2 separate regions of the Homo sapiens genome follow, and region 2 is linked to region 1. Evidence: promoter capture Hi-C in human tissues and cell types (Jung and others, 2019). All regions are on one chromosome and are shown on one strand. The core of a region is centred on a gene start or on the middle of the fragment in contact, and the rest is flanking DNA. Distances in the headings are between cores, read along the strand shown. Region 1 holds the start of FERMT2 (FERM domain containing kindlin 2). Region 2 overlaps FERMT2 (FERM domain containing kindlin 2).

The links. The method cuts DNA at HindIII sites, captures the fragments that hold promoters and counts their contacts. A contact is called where the count stands out against the background at its distance.
Region 2: a fragment that was not itself captured here is called in contact with the fragment with the promoter of FERMT2 in region 1 in 3 of the 25 tissues and cell types used here (liver, mesenchymal stem cells and mesendoderm cells).

The regions. Positions count from the first base shown.
Region 1 is chr14:52,947,938-52,954,878 of GRCh38, forward strand. It overlaps FERMT2 (FERM domain containing kindlin 2), which reads right to left and starts at 3,113. Exons shown (of 15, transcript NM_006832.3): 1 at 2,984-3,113; 2 at 2,475-2,640. The coding sequence starts at 2,631. RefSeq lists a silencer at 2,882-3,091 and an enhancer at 3,812-4,390. The HindIII fragment of the contact is 21,614 bases long and covers 1-6,941 here.
Region 2 is chr14:52,882,047-52,888,987 of GRCh38, forward strand. The region is part of intron 4 of FERMT2 (FERM domain containing kindlin 2); the gene reads right to left. All of the region lies in intron 1 of LOC105370500 (a long non-coding RNA gene), which reads left to right. Among named protein-coding and RNA genes, the nearest start is that of FERMT2, 66 kb to the right of the region's middle. RefSeq lists enhancers at 1,853-2,378, 2,379-2,904. The HindIII fragment of the contact is 9,630 bases long and covers 1-6,941 here.

The DNA of each region.
Region 1 (6,941 bases), core at 1,863-4,362:
TAATGCTTTTGGTATTCATATACCGTCCAACAGATTAAGAAGGATATCAGACAGTCTGGAGTTTGAAAATGTAAGTGAATGCTCTGGTGTCTTCTGTTCATAACTGCTTCAAGGCCACAGTAGCCCAAGTCTGCTAATTTTCCATCACTGCTCTGCAAACCTGAGACAACAGACTTTGTACCATCTCATCCCTACCACCATCTCCACCTTTTATCTAGACTCTGCAAGCTGCTTTGATCCTCTCTAGCCACTGTTGGCAAGTAGTCATCCAGTCTGCCCTTTAATACCTTCAGTGACATAAGTCAGGGCTTCAGAAGGCAGGTCATTCCAGTTTTACGCAACTCTGAAAAATTACAAAGTTCTTTTCTAATTTGACTAGCCTGATTTGTGGATGTTTTAAATGCTGCCCTACCGAATCTCTCCTCTATTTACTTGCTGATAGGCAACGAAATAGCTTACCATTCAAAGCATCTAATCCTAAAAACCAAAAGCATCACTTAGCTCTACTTTTACCAAACAGGAAAGTCAGAGGCACTTTCTATTTGGAATTCAAAATATAAGAGGAATCAGTATGAATTCAGTTCAGAAAAGATGTAAGGTTTCCATACGCACAGCATTTCCTACCTTGTTGGGCTTCTTTTCTCTGCATAAAAAATTAAAAATGTATCAGCATTAAAAGATTAAGATTATAGTCATTTAAATTAACATCATTTCTGTCTGCAGTTTATTCTCTATATTTCTATTTATTACTGTGATTCTATAATAAACAGTCCTAAGCAATGCAAAATAAATATAGAAACCATTATTTATTCATTAGCTACAGCCTGGCTTTCGAGAACTACAAGTTGTCTCAGTCACCTTCAACAGCTCCTTTTTTTGCAATATAAAAAATATCTCCTATTGAGACCAATGTATTAATATGGTCCATTTACCATAAATTAGAAAAGCTCTAACAAAAATGCTTGTTTTCTTTGAAAACAAAATATCCAAATATTTGCTATTTTCCTTCTTAAATAATCTCATACCAGAGCTGGACAAAAAAGGTTCATACATATTTTGCAAACAGTGACTGATTTATTCAAATCAGATAAAAATACTGTTAACTGCCAGTTAAATGGTTAATCAATACAGCAAAATCTAATTTTCACTGGGCTACCTAGGAGGATTTTCTTTCCTGAGCTGTATCTCAGGGAGCCAAACAATGCAGTCTTAAGGAAGAGGCTACCTTGTAAGGAGCTTCACTTTGGTCCTTCAATAATAAAACTTCCTGCAGGGGTACAAAGCAGGTCCACCCAAATGAATCCTGCCTTATTTTGCAAAATGCATCAGAGTGCTATTTCAGTACCTTTACATACAATAATCCTTTGGTAAGAAATAGATTTCCTGACAAATAAGCACTTCTCTACTTTCCCAGTGTAGCTTGAAAACGAATGCTGTGTTTAAAAAAAAAAAGAAAAAAAAAAAGACGAAAAAAACCCCCAGAAAGTCCCCAACCCCCCTTCACCAAAACAAAAAACAATTCCAGCCTAAAAAGACAATGCCACACAGATAATCATCTTATCACAACTGTATTATGTACAAAAGGCTCTTTAAAGCTCAGGAAGATAGTTCTCTGAGCATTTCTCTTATGATCAAATCATCTATTTAGCTGACTCTTCCAGATGAAAATGGTTTCATTCATCACAAAAATGTGTACTGCACACTCTTCACACACTTCATACTGTAAGATACCTTATTATTTTAAATCGGATATCAATCCAATACATATTTGTACTCAAGCAAACACCGTCAACCTCAAATTAGTTTAACAAAGTCTGCTTTTTAACACAAAGTTCTTTCCTTGGCTTGTTATTAATATAAAACCGAACGCTCGAAACGGCTTACATCGAGCATGGACTATGGATACCAAGTTTGTCAAGCACTGCCCCACCCCTAGTAAGAGTGGATGACTGGAACATTTTAATGCACTCCACCACGTAGAACAGCCACAGAAACTTCACACTGGCGCCAGTAGTTGCACATTTTCCAGCACAGATTTTTCTTAAATGGATTTTGCATCATTCTCTATACCAAACGTCACTAACATTCAGGTATGCTGAAGACATAGATAACCACGGACACTGTAATATCACCCTCCCAACACACTTTCCTCATTCTTTTATCGTTCTGTCAGTAAATGTTAAGAATTAACGAGTTCCCCGGCACACATCCCCCGTCCCGCGTAACTACGCAATTAAGGTTATAATTGGGAGGCTCGAATCATTACATATGAAAATTCAGAGAATAGCAAAACAAAATAAGACGCAAAGGGGAACAGGTCTATCTGCTTAAATACTGAAAGATTTTACATCTCCAAAAAGCATTTGCGAGATGCCAAGATTTCTCAAATGGGCCCCTCCCCCGTCGTGAGCCTCTTTCCTCCCCCTACCAATTCTGGGAAGTCATTAGTTGGACGCGGCTGGGATGCTACTCACCGAGTTTCTCCACCAGCTTAAGCATCACGCCTCCAATGTGCACCTCGCCGGTCACTCTCAGGGTGACATCGCGGTTCAGGTCCGTCACATGGACACTCAGTTCCCACGTCCCGTCCGCGTAGCAGCCATCTGGCATCCTTATCCCGTCCAGAGCCATGGCTCCTTCCTGCGAGCGCGGAGGAAATGGCTCTCGTAAGCGTCACTCCCCCAAAGAAAGGCGAATCCCACCGAATTCGCAGCGCCGGCCACGGGCTGGGAGGTGGTGGAGGACCCGGGGCTTTCGGCAGAAACTCGGGAGGGCGGCGGCGGCCGGGGCTGCGGGAGGACCCTACGCCCCGCTCGCCCCGCAGCGTTCCTCGGTCCCGGCGCCGCCCGCCCCACACCGTCCCCGCCTAGCGGACCGCGGAGGGCTTCACCTGCCGGCCGGCCCCGAGACACAGCGCGGGCTGACTCCCCGTTCCCCTCCCCGCCGCGCCCCCTCGGGTCCCGGCGGGGTCCCGCTCCCTCACCGCGCGCTCCTAGCGCTCCGGGCCCGGGACTCGCGCGGCAACAGGCGAGGGGCTGGAGGCTCGCGGGGCGGCGGTGTCCGCGTCCGGTTCCTCGGCTGGCGAAGCGCTGCCTGTGGCCGGAGCGGCTAATGGAGTCCCGTCGTCGCGGCCCCTCGCCTGGCTCCCCGCGCTCCACCCTCTCCCCGCCCCCTCTGTCCGAGCCTGGCTGGGCTGGGCGCGCTGGCTCCCTCCTTCGCCGCCCGCAGAGCTGCCCTGAGCGGGTCCGGCCGGCCTCGCCTCTGCCCCCGCCCTCCCGGCGCCGCGCTCGGGGGAGGGGGCTGCGGGTCCCGGGCGGGGCGGGGCGGCGTGGGGCGGGGCGGCGCGGGGGTGGCGGGGGGCGCGGCGGGGCGGCAATCTCGGCCCCGCGGAGCGCTGCCCTTTTATGGAAATGAAGGACCCGGCTCAGGAATTGAATCCAACATCCGGGCTCTAGGCGGCGGGCCCTGAGGAGGGGGAGCGGGGGAGCGCGGGCGGCCTTTCCCGGGGCGCTGGTGGCCGGCGGGGCGTCTAGAGCTCAGGCTGGACTGGGGCCCCCGCGGCGTGTGTCCGCGCTGGCAGCAGGGAGAGGGGGCTTGTCCGTGAGAAACGGCCCCAGGAAATTCCCAGGGCAAGGTCGTTTTCGGAGAACAAAGTCCTCTCGCCCCCTCCCCACGCCTGCAGCGAGACAAAAAGCCTCAGGGAGGTGAGAGGTGCCGCACCCCGGGAGCTGGAGAGAGGAGTCTGGGACGGAGAAACTTTAAAAAGTAAATGCCCAAACCAACTCCTTGAATGTCCTACAAAAGAATAAGAAAACCCCGAGGGAGGTGAACCACAAAAATTGCTTTGCAAGCAATGTCCGGCACCATCAGCAACTCCTACTGGACTCCCAGGAGTTTGCAAGCGTTCTTAACCCCTTCGGACGCTCCAGCCAGATGCCAGTCAAACAGATGATGCTCTTGCCTGAGGGGAAAGGAAAGACACAACCTAGTGCCACAGGTTTTACTCAGAAACTGTTTCCCCAGCTTCTCCAGCTCTTTGTACTTATTTGTGTGTTTTTATATGCAAGTTAGAACTAACAGTCTATTAAAGCTGTTAGATGGAGATACATGTTCCATCCCACCCTCAGCCACACCTTGGATTTTAATACTTCTGGAACGGTGCCTGCAGGTACCAGGAAGAGCTAAACAACTTCACCTGTTGAAGACTGGCTAGTGATGGGGAACGGTCCTCCTGCTTCCCGCTTTTGTTTCCACTTCCCCCATTAACTGTTGTACTCTGTTGAGGGAACTCCTTTCAGAAACAGCAAACCAGAGAAACTGCCTCGCTAGCAAATTCATGGGCTCAGAAAATAAACGTCAAGAAGGCTCAGATTAAAATACCTTTTAAAGATAAAAGACTCCAGTTCGCAGTCTCATAATCTTGTCGAATTGTCTCAAACGCTTGGAAAAGGAACTCGCTAGGCAGATAACCTTTTGTTCATTAACATTACTGGGAAACAAGATGAGAGGCCTCAAGAAAGGGGTGGAACTCAGAAAGGAGTGAAAGCAGCAAAATTTAGTCAGATGCCAAAGGCTTGGCAGAAAAAAAAATAGGGAAAACCACTACAGTGTTTTTAGCTAGTTATCATGGAGAAATTGATGCCTTCAGTCTCTTATCTGTCTACTCTCCAATATTTCTACTCGTGGACGTTCCAAATAGTTCACTTGAAAGCAATATGAATGTCCGGAGATGAGGGAGTTTATGTAAATTATGGGGTTGAAAATATACAGGAAAATGTTTTTAATAAATTAAGGAATTGCTTGTTAGGGCACAAAACTGCAGAACTGGATATGCAGCTATAAAATTAAGAGCTTATTTACGTTAAATGTTCAGAGAAAAAGACTGTAAGGAAATACAGCAAAATGTTAAGAAGCTCTCTGGGTCTTGAGATCACGGAAGTTTTTTCTTTCTTTTATTCTTTATTTTCTGCCAACTCAAAAACTTTACACCACCACCTAGAATTGCATCCAGCATTTCAGTTTCTCTGTACATGCCATGACATTCACGATGATAGACACTGGATACAGCAGCTACTGACTGAACGATGGACAGGATTTTCAGAGGTTTCCTTTGGTGTTTTTTAAATAGTTCTAAAGAAAACTTGAGTTCTTTAAGAGCAGAGATTTCAAATTATTTTCATTGTCCACAAATTCACAATAGCTTGGTACAGAGAAAATGGAAAACATGCTGGTGTCAAACCAACACAAATGTCAAAGAAACAGTGGGTCTGTTCCATGGAGAAATCTCAGGGGCCAGGTACAGTGGCTCATGCCTATAATCCCAGCACTTTGGGAGGCTGAGGCAGGAGGATCACTTGAGCCCAGGAGGTGGAGGCTGCAGTGAGCTGTATTCACACCACTGCCCTCCAGCCTGGATTGATCGCAGAAAAACAAAAAACAAATCTCAATGGGAAAATCCCCACTTTAAAAATATACTTATTTATTTCCCCCACTTTATCCCCCAAAAGATTTATGGCAACGTATAAGGATGCATAAACTGTGAGATAGTATACATTATAAGTGGCACAAAACAAGAAAAAAAAGGTGGGTGGGGATTGGGAGGCTTAGAGGGGTGGAGTAGAGATTTATTTATTTATTTTGGAGTAGAGATTTAAAATGGAGCTGGGAATGAAGCTAAGAATTGTATCTTATGACATTTGCACATGCTCCAGTAAGCTACAAAAAAATTATGGCTTTCTAAACATGCCTTTCTAGAACCTAAAATATCTATGCCCTTTCTGAATATTCCCTTTCCTTCAGACAAAATTGTTGAAGCCAACTGTCATGGTTTAGAAACTCTTTTAATACAGATGGTCCCTGACTTATGATTTTTTGTTTATGACGGTGTGAAAGCGATAGGCATTCAGTAGAAACCGTACTTTGAATACCCCTAGGACCTTTCTGTTTTTCACATTCAGTACAGTATTCAATAAATTACATGAGATAGTCAACACTTTACTATAACATGGGCTTCATATTGGATCATTTTGCCCAACTGGAGGCTAATGTAAATGTTCTGGATACATTTAAGATAGGCTAGGTTAAGCTGTGATGTTCGTCGGTAGGTTAGGTATATGAAATGCATGTTTGACTTACAATATTTTCAATTTACAGAATGTAACCTCATCATAAGTTGCAGAGCATCTGTACTCGGTTTCCAAATTCTAGTTATTTTCCCACTTTCCAGTAAGAGTTACTTTCTGAACACCCCCACGACAGCACCGACTGCTCTAACTACCGTGCTTTCCTGAATCCACTTCTACGAATGTTCTCTACATTTAGTGACAGAGAGTGGGGGTGGGGAATTTTAATATTGTGAATAACTGCCCTATTTCTTAACATTTGAAATCGCTTGAGTATAGCTTCATAAGACACTTTACTGGCTTTAGAAAGTCAGCAGTATATATTTGAGCAATTAATGCACAGGAAGGCAAGGACCTTCAGTTAAGTACCAGTGGAAGAATAATTAGATTAGGTTGGGTGCAGCTGATCCCTTCAGGCCTTCTTTTTGACTATTTCAAGCTGTCACTTGCTTTGAAGATTAAAGAGGAGTCAGCCTCACCTCTCTGAAACTGGGATTTTTTTTTTCCAGTTTATCAAGTGACGCTTTCAAGTGCATTTCTTAAATATTCACTTCTACCTAAGATTTAGAATGTATTCAAATGTAGACTCTTATCTGAAATCCCCTGCTAGAACCACTAGGACAATGCAATGCTTGTGGTACTTACATCATACTGAAAAGTAGCTGAGTACGCCAGTGTTTGGAAGAACAGCTCAAGCAATGAAAGCAGCAATATCCAAATAAGGTACCAAGCACTGGACTTAGATTTAGACCAAGCAGTGCCTCACAGATCTGCCGTCAAATGCAGCCCTCGGGCTTGGTAATGCTCAGGTTGACTTTA
Region 2 (6,941 bases), core at 1,425-3,924, 66 kb before region 1:
AAGTTGTGCTGTAGTCAAGTATATAGTGACAAATATGTCTACAACTTTTACCACCATTTGAAATCCATACAATTTGAAGGTAACACAATAGAACTGAATTCATATAGATTAAGAATAATTTTATAGTAAAGTCTTCTCAGTGAATAAACAGGTTTCAACAATTTTACAAATAAAGTTTTTTTTAATTTTTAAGTTCTGGGGTACAACAAATAAAGTATTAATGTAAAAGGGGAGATAAAAGTCTGCCCTAGAAAGAGTCTAAACAGAGATATATTTAATAGTCAAATCTCAAAAGGAAGGGATATTGCCTTATTTATCTTCTGATTTCTTAGTATTAGGGCTAGACATATAGTAGAGGTTACGTAAATAACAATTTGTTACATTAGTCAACAGATGGTATGTGCTCCTTTATTTAAACTACAAAAATTAAGGAGATGAATTTAAGGCATCTAAAAATGTTCAGAATGACATTAAGGACAAGCAGCTCCCCCAAGTCCTAGCTCTGTTAAATTATATTTTGTCCTGTTGTCATAATTTTTCAAAAGAAAATGTGCAATGGGCATAACACTGTTAATGTAAAGAAAATGGCTTTTCCATTCCCTAAATTTAGGGTTAAGCTTAGAAATCCATCTCCTTTCCTACTATTTTTAACTCTTCTCCCCATGCAATGATAGAAACACTGCCTGTGAAAAAGTGGTGCTAATGCTAGAGATTTTTGTAGCTGTCATGACCTAGTCTAGGAAGCAAAGTTAAAAAAAAAAAGTTTTTACTGAAAATATGTAATCTCTTGCTGGACACAGGATATTTGATTTTATGTCCCTGACATGTGTTCTTCCAATGTTAGTACTAAAAAAAACCTGTAAAATCTAGGCCAGGTGTGGTGGCTCACTCCTGTAATCTCAGCACTTTGGGAGGCTGAGGCGGTTGAATCACTTGAGGTCAGGAATTCGAGATCAGCCTGGCCAACATGGAGAAACCCTGTCTCTACTAAAAACACAAAAATTTGCCAGGAGTGGTGGTGCACGCTATTCGGGAGGCGAAGGCTGCAGTGAGCCAAGATTGCATCAATGCACTCCAGTCTAGGCAACAAAGCAAGACTCTATCTCAAACAAACAAACAAACAAACAAACAAAAAACCCTCTAAAATCCGAACACTGTTAATCCTAAAACACAAAGCAAAGTTGTGAACTCTTTATCAGCATTTAAAGAATACTGGGATCGTTAGTCCTGGGGCTTTAAAAGCTAGATCCTTAAACTAGACAGGTATTTTTCAAACTTAAAATTGTGTGACACCTTTTGAAAGGACTAATTGGGCACCCCACACTTATTAAATGTGCTGAACACATTACTCCAACTCAGTTGGGCAAAGGGTATTTCTGCTACAGAGTGTGCATGTAGATAAAGTGTGAAAAAACATTAACTTCTAGGCAAAGTCTTGTTTCTTTCAAAGATCTATTAAATAAATCTGTTACGAAGAATGTCAGTATACTGAAAATGTGCACCTGGTGAGATTATAATTTCTATCCAAAACTGAGTCAAGTTAGAATGGACAATTTGCTTTATAAAGTTTCTAATATAGAAAAGATACTCCCCCTAAATCACTGATATGGTTTGGATCAGTGTCCCTGCCCAAATCGCATGTCTAATTGTAATCCCCAATGTTGGAGGAGGGGCCTGGTGGGAGGTGACTGAATCACAGGGGTGGAGTTCTCATAATGGTTTTGCACCATCCCCGCTTGGTACTGTATAGTCAGTGACTTCTCATGAGATCTGGTTGTTTAAAGTGTGTGGCACCTCCCCACTCCCACCCCTACCTCCTGTTCCAGCCACGTGAAGTGCTGGCTCCTCCTCCGCCTTCCGCTGTAATTGTAAGTTTCCTGAGGCCTCCCCAGGAGCTGATGCCACCATGCTTCCTGGACAGCCTGCAGAACTGTGAGCCAATTAAACCTCTTTTCTCCTAAGTTACCAAGTCTCAGGTATTTCCTTATAGCAATTCAAGAATGAACAAATACAATCACACATTTAATAGAATCAGCCACCCACCCAAATCTGCGTTTCAACTTCCTATAGTTTGTATCTTCTTCAATTCATACTTAATCACTTCGTTGTTCTTATTTGTTCTGTAGGCACTATGTGATAATAAACTCACTTAGCGTTCACAACAACTCTATTATTCTCACTTCAGAGGAGCAAACTGAGGCAAAGCAAGGTTAAATAACTTGTCCAAGGTCAAGAGCAAGTAAGCTGCAGCCAAGCTATAAATCGGCCAGTCTGGGCAGGCGCGGTGGCTCAAGCCTGTAATCCCAGCACTTTGGGAAGCCAAGGTGGGCAGACTGCCTGAGGTCAGGAGTTCGAGACCAGCCTGGCCAACATGGTGAAACCCCGCCTCTACTAAAAATACAAAAAATTAGCCAGGCATGGTGGCAGCCTGCCTGTAATCCCAGCTACTTGGGAGGCTGAGGCAGGAGAATCACTTGAACCCGGGAGGCGGAGTTTGCAGTGAGAGACTGCACCATTGCACTCCAGCCTGGGTGACAAGAGCGAAACTCCGTCTCAAAAACAACAAACAAAAAAACCCCAGCCAGTCTGGCTGTAGGGCTACACACTGCCTCCATGTACTATAACTTACGTAAGCCATTCCCAATTGGTGTGCACCTATTTTTTAAAATTCTGTTACTGTAAGGTGGCTCATGCCTGTAATCCCAGCACTTTGGGAGGCCGAGGCAGGCAGATCACCTGAGGTCAGGAGTTCAAGACCAGCCTGGCCAACATGGTGAAACTCTGTCTCCACTAAAAATATAAAAAATAAGCTGGGTGTGGTGGTGCACGCCTATAGTCCCAGCTACTTGGGAGGCTGAGACAGGAGAATCGCTTGAACCGAGGAGGTGGAGGTTGCAGTGAGCAGAGATTGTGCCACTGCAGTCCAGCCTGGGTGACAGAATGAGACTGTGTTTCGAAAAATAAAAATAAAAAAATAAAATTCTGGCCAGGTGCGGTGGCTCATGCCTGTAATGCCCGCACTTTGAGAGGCCAAGGCGGGTGGATCACCTGAGGTTAGGAGTTTGAGACCAGCCTAGCCAACATGGTGAAACCCCGTCTCTACTAAAAATACAAAAATTAGCCAGGCATGGTGGCATGCTCCTGTAGTTCCAGCTACTCAGGAGGCTGAGGCAGGAGAATCGCTTGAACCCAGAAGGCAGAGGTTGCAGTGAGCCAAGATCACACCACTACACTCCAGCCTGGGTAACAGGGCGAGACTTAGTCTCAAAAAAAAAAAAAAAAAAAAAAAAAAATCTGTTACTAATGTCATTATTGCAAACCAATGCTTCAACAAACATTTTTGTAGTTATTTCCCAATTCTAGCAGCACTGCTGGGTCAGAGGGTATGGGTATTTTAAATTCCTTCATCGTGGTTCAGAGACAATCCCAACTAAGTTGTTTTCTTGAATGTCTGGTTTAAAATGCATCTGAGGCAGCAAACTAGTAAAGTGTAAGATAAAGTAGCAGATTTAGCAACAAAATATGAGCTTACTAAATGACATGGAAAGATAACTTAAAAACTCTAAGGGGGAGAAATAGAGTTCAAAAAGCACTACAGTCTGAGTCCACCTACTGTAGATATTTAAAACCCGATATAATCAAACAACTCCTAAATATTGCTATATTTTAACACAGTAAAATTTACCTAACTTATTATAAATTGTATATTTTTTAAAAAGAGTACTAAAGTAATACATTTTAAAAAATTTTCACCAAAATACCTATCTTATACCATATTTTATCAAAAGAATTTTTATGGTATTATTTTTATATTTTTGGAGAAAATTTTCCCAAGCAAGAGTAAACCTAGAACTATAAAGTAAATGGCTAACAGATATAAGACCACATAAAAATGTAAAACAATATGGTTTTAAAAAAAAAAGGCCACAAACAAAATGCCAGTATATAAAGGGAAGTAACACATTAAAATTTTAATATCACTAAAAGCAAAAATATAAATAAAATAAAGAATCTATCATTTGAAAATTAATAGAATATAAATGGCTAATAAACATATAAATTATTCAACTATCCTAGTATTAGGGAAATGCAAAATAACCGAGATACTACTTATTGTCAAACTGGCAAAAACACAGATTTACAACATTCAATATTGAGCAGAATGTAGGAAATGGGGCATTTTCATGTACTACTGATGGAAGTATAAACCACAGAAACTCTTGGGGGGGAGAGAGAGAGAGAGAGACAGACAGAGTGTGTGTGATATAATGTATAGATATATATGTATCTACACATACATGTATTTTTTTAGAGACAGGGTCTTGCTCTGTTGCCCAGGCTGGAATGCAGCAGTGTGACCACCCAGGTTGAACTCCTGGGCTCAGGAGATCCTCCTGTCTCAGCCTCCCAAGTAGCTAGGACTACAGGTGTACACCACAACGCCCAGCTCTGGGATATATGTGACAGAAAAATTAGATACCACCTAGGTAGAAAAACAGGTAAATATACTTTTTCTATAGGTAAAACTCTGAAGTCATTTATAAGAACTAGGGAGACTTCTCTGCTTTGACACAAATCACTAAAACACTGATCACCAAAAATCAAATTGCAGAGCATAAAATATATATTAGGATCTCATTTATGTTATTAAAATAAGACTAGATGTGCAAATTTTATACCCACTTGTGCATATAAACACACAGAAACGGTACTGTCAAGTTGGACTCCAAACTTACAACCTCGTTATATGTAGTAATCAAGAAATGGCTCCCTCTTGAGAAGGAGTAGCCAGGGAATAAGTTTAAAAGGAACTCACCTTAATTTTAATACATTTTTTATATTACTTGAGTTTATGATAAAGAGACTGTATTCATGTATAAATTTTGTAATTAAAAAATATATGAGGTCCATCAGTATGTATCATCAAGTGAGAAAACACAATGTGTGTATAACACAGTCCCACTTTTGTTAGAAAAAAAATGAATATGTAATCCTGTAATATTTGAATATTTACTATAAGCATGTGATACTTTTGTACTTAAAAGAATAGTTTTAAAAAATGTTTTGAGGCTAGGTGCAGTGATCCCAGCACTTTTTTTTTTTTTTTGAGATGGAGTCTCGCTCTGTCGCCCAGGCTGGAGTGCAATGGTGCGATCTTGGCTCACTGCAACCTCCCCACCTCCCGGGTTCAAGTGATTCTCCTGCCTCAGCCTCCCTAGTAGCTATCCCAGCACTTCTGAGAGACCAAGGCAGGAGGATTGCTTGAGACCAGCCTGGGAAACATGGCAAAACCTCATCTCTACAAAAAATACAAAAATTAGCTGGCCATGCTGGCATCTGCCTGAAGTCCCAACTACTTGGGAGGCGGAGGGAGGAGGATCACTTGAGCCCAGAAGTCTGAGACCAGACTGGGTAACATAGCAAGACCCTGTCCCTTAAAAAAAAAAGAAAGAAAAAATTTAGCAAACATTCCTATTATAATTCATAAAATAAACATTATGGCCAGGCATGGTAGCTCATGCCCATAATCTAGCACTTTGGGAGGCTGAGGTGAAAGGATTACTTGAGGCCAAGAGTTGATGACCAGCCTGGGCAACACAGAGAGACCCTGTCTCTTAAAAAAAAAAGAATTGGTTACTTAATGGTTAGAAGCATGAGCACCGGAGCCTGGATGTGAATTCTAGCTCTGCTCCTTATTACCTTTGTGACCTTGGGAAAATTACTTAACTAAGTAACGAAAATTACTTAACTAAAGTTAACTAAAATTACTTAACTTTAGTTAAAAAAAGTTAAACTTTATTTAACTAAAAGGTTAAATAAAATTACTTAACCTTGGGAAAATAACTCCACTTAACCCTTGTGGAGTTATTTCCTCAGAAGTAAAATGAAGACATCACCAAAACTGCTGGTATTTTGTGGCGATTAAGTGAAAGATTATGTATTCAATAATACTTATAACTTATTTACTATGTATGTAATTGTTGACCATGGAGGAGGAAAAACCTGACATTATATACGTTTATTTCTATGTGGCTAAATTTTCTCCTAGAATATAAATTCATATATTTATTTTGTTTATATCAACAATATACACTACTCTCCAACCATTAAAAATCAGAGACAACCAAGAGGAAAAAAACAAACCATAAGGCTTATTTGTGATTTTGGTTTGCAACCCACTTTCCTACCAAACGAAAGTATTTTTAAAATACGGATTAGTATTCGTATTAGATGTGACTTATAAAAGGAAAAGTATTAGTGGGTTGCTCAATCTAAATTACTATGTCTTAATCAAGGCAGCCCAGCTTAAGAATTCAGTGAAAAGACTGATGCTAACTCAATCACGATTATTCATTAGCTTAAGTTATATACTAACCAGCTTTCCTACAATTTGTCATTATCACCAAGCTGAAGGGAAGAGAAGCAAAATTTAGTAAGTTCTGGAACTATTACAAAATTATCCAATGCTTCCAATTCTACCAGTAGCTTCTTGTCTTTTTGTTTTGTAAGATCTAAGCTGATAATTTTATTTTTCATACTCACAGGGTTTGCTTCTAGCCATTTCCGTATGATGTAAAAATTTTAAGATTTCCTGCTTCCTGGACTAGCATACTCTCAAGAATTTCTATGCATACCGGTCTTCACCTATGGTTTCCAGGCAACAAAACCTCCTCAGCTTCCCAAATTCTAACTCTCTAAGACTTATAGAAACATTCAGCGTTATCGCTTCTAATATTGATATGGGATGACTCTGATTGCCACTACTCATGTAGAGTACAGTATAAGGATTTGTTGGAGAATTTAAATTTTAATTAATTTTTTTTTTCTTTAAGGTAAACAAGGCTACAAAAATTAAGTAAAAGCTAGGTTGTGGCATCTCTGGCCACTGACGTATTTGCTAAAATTATGGGTCTGTGTGTACTCATGAGGGACAGAAGGGA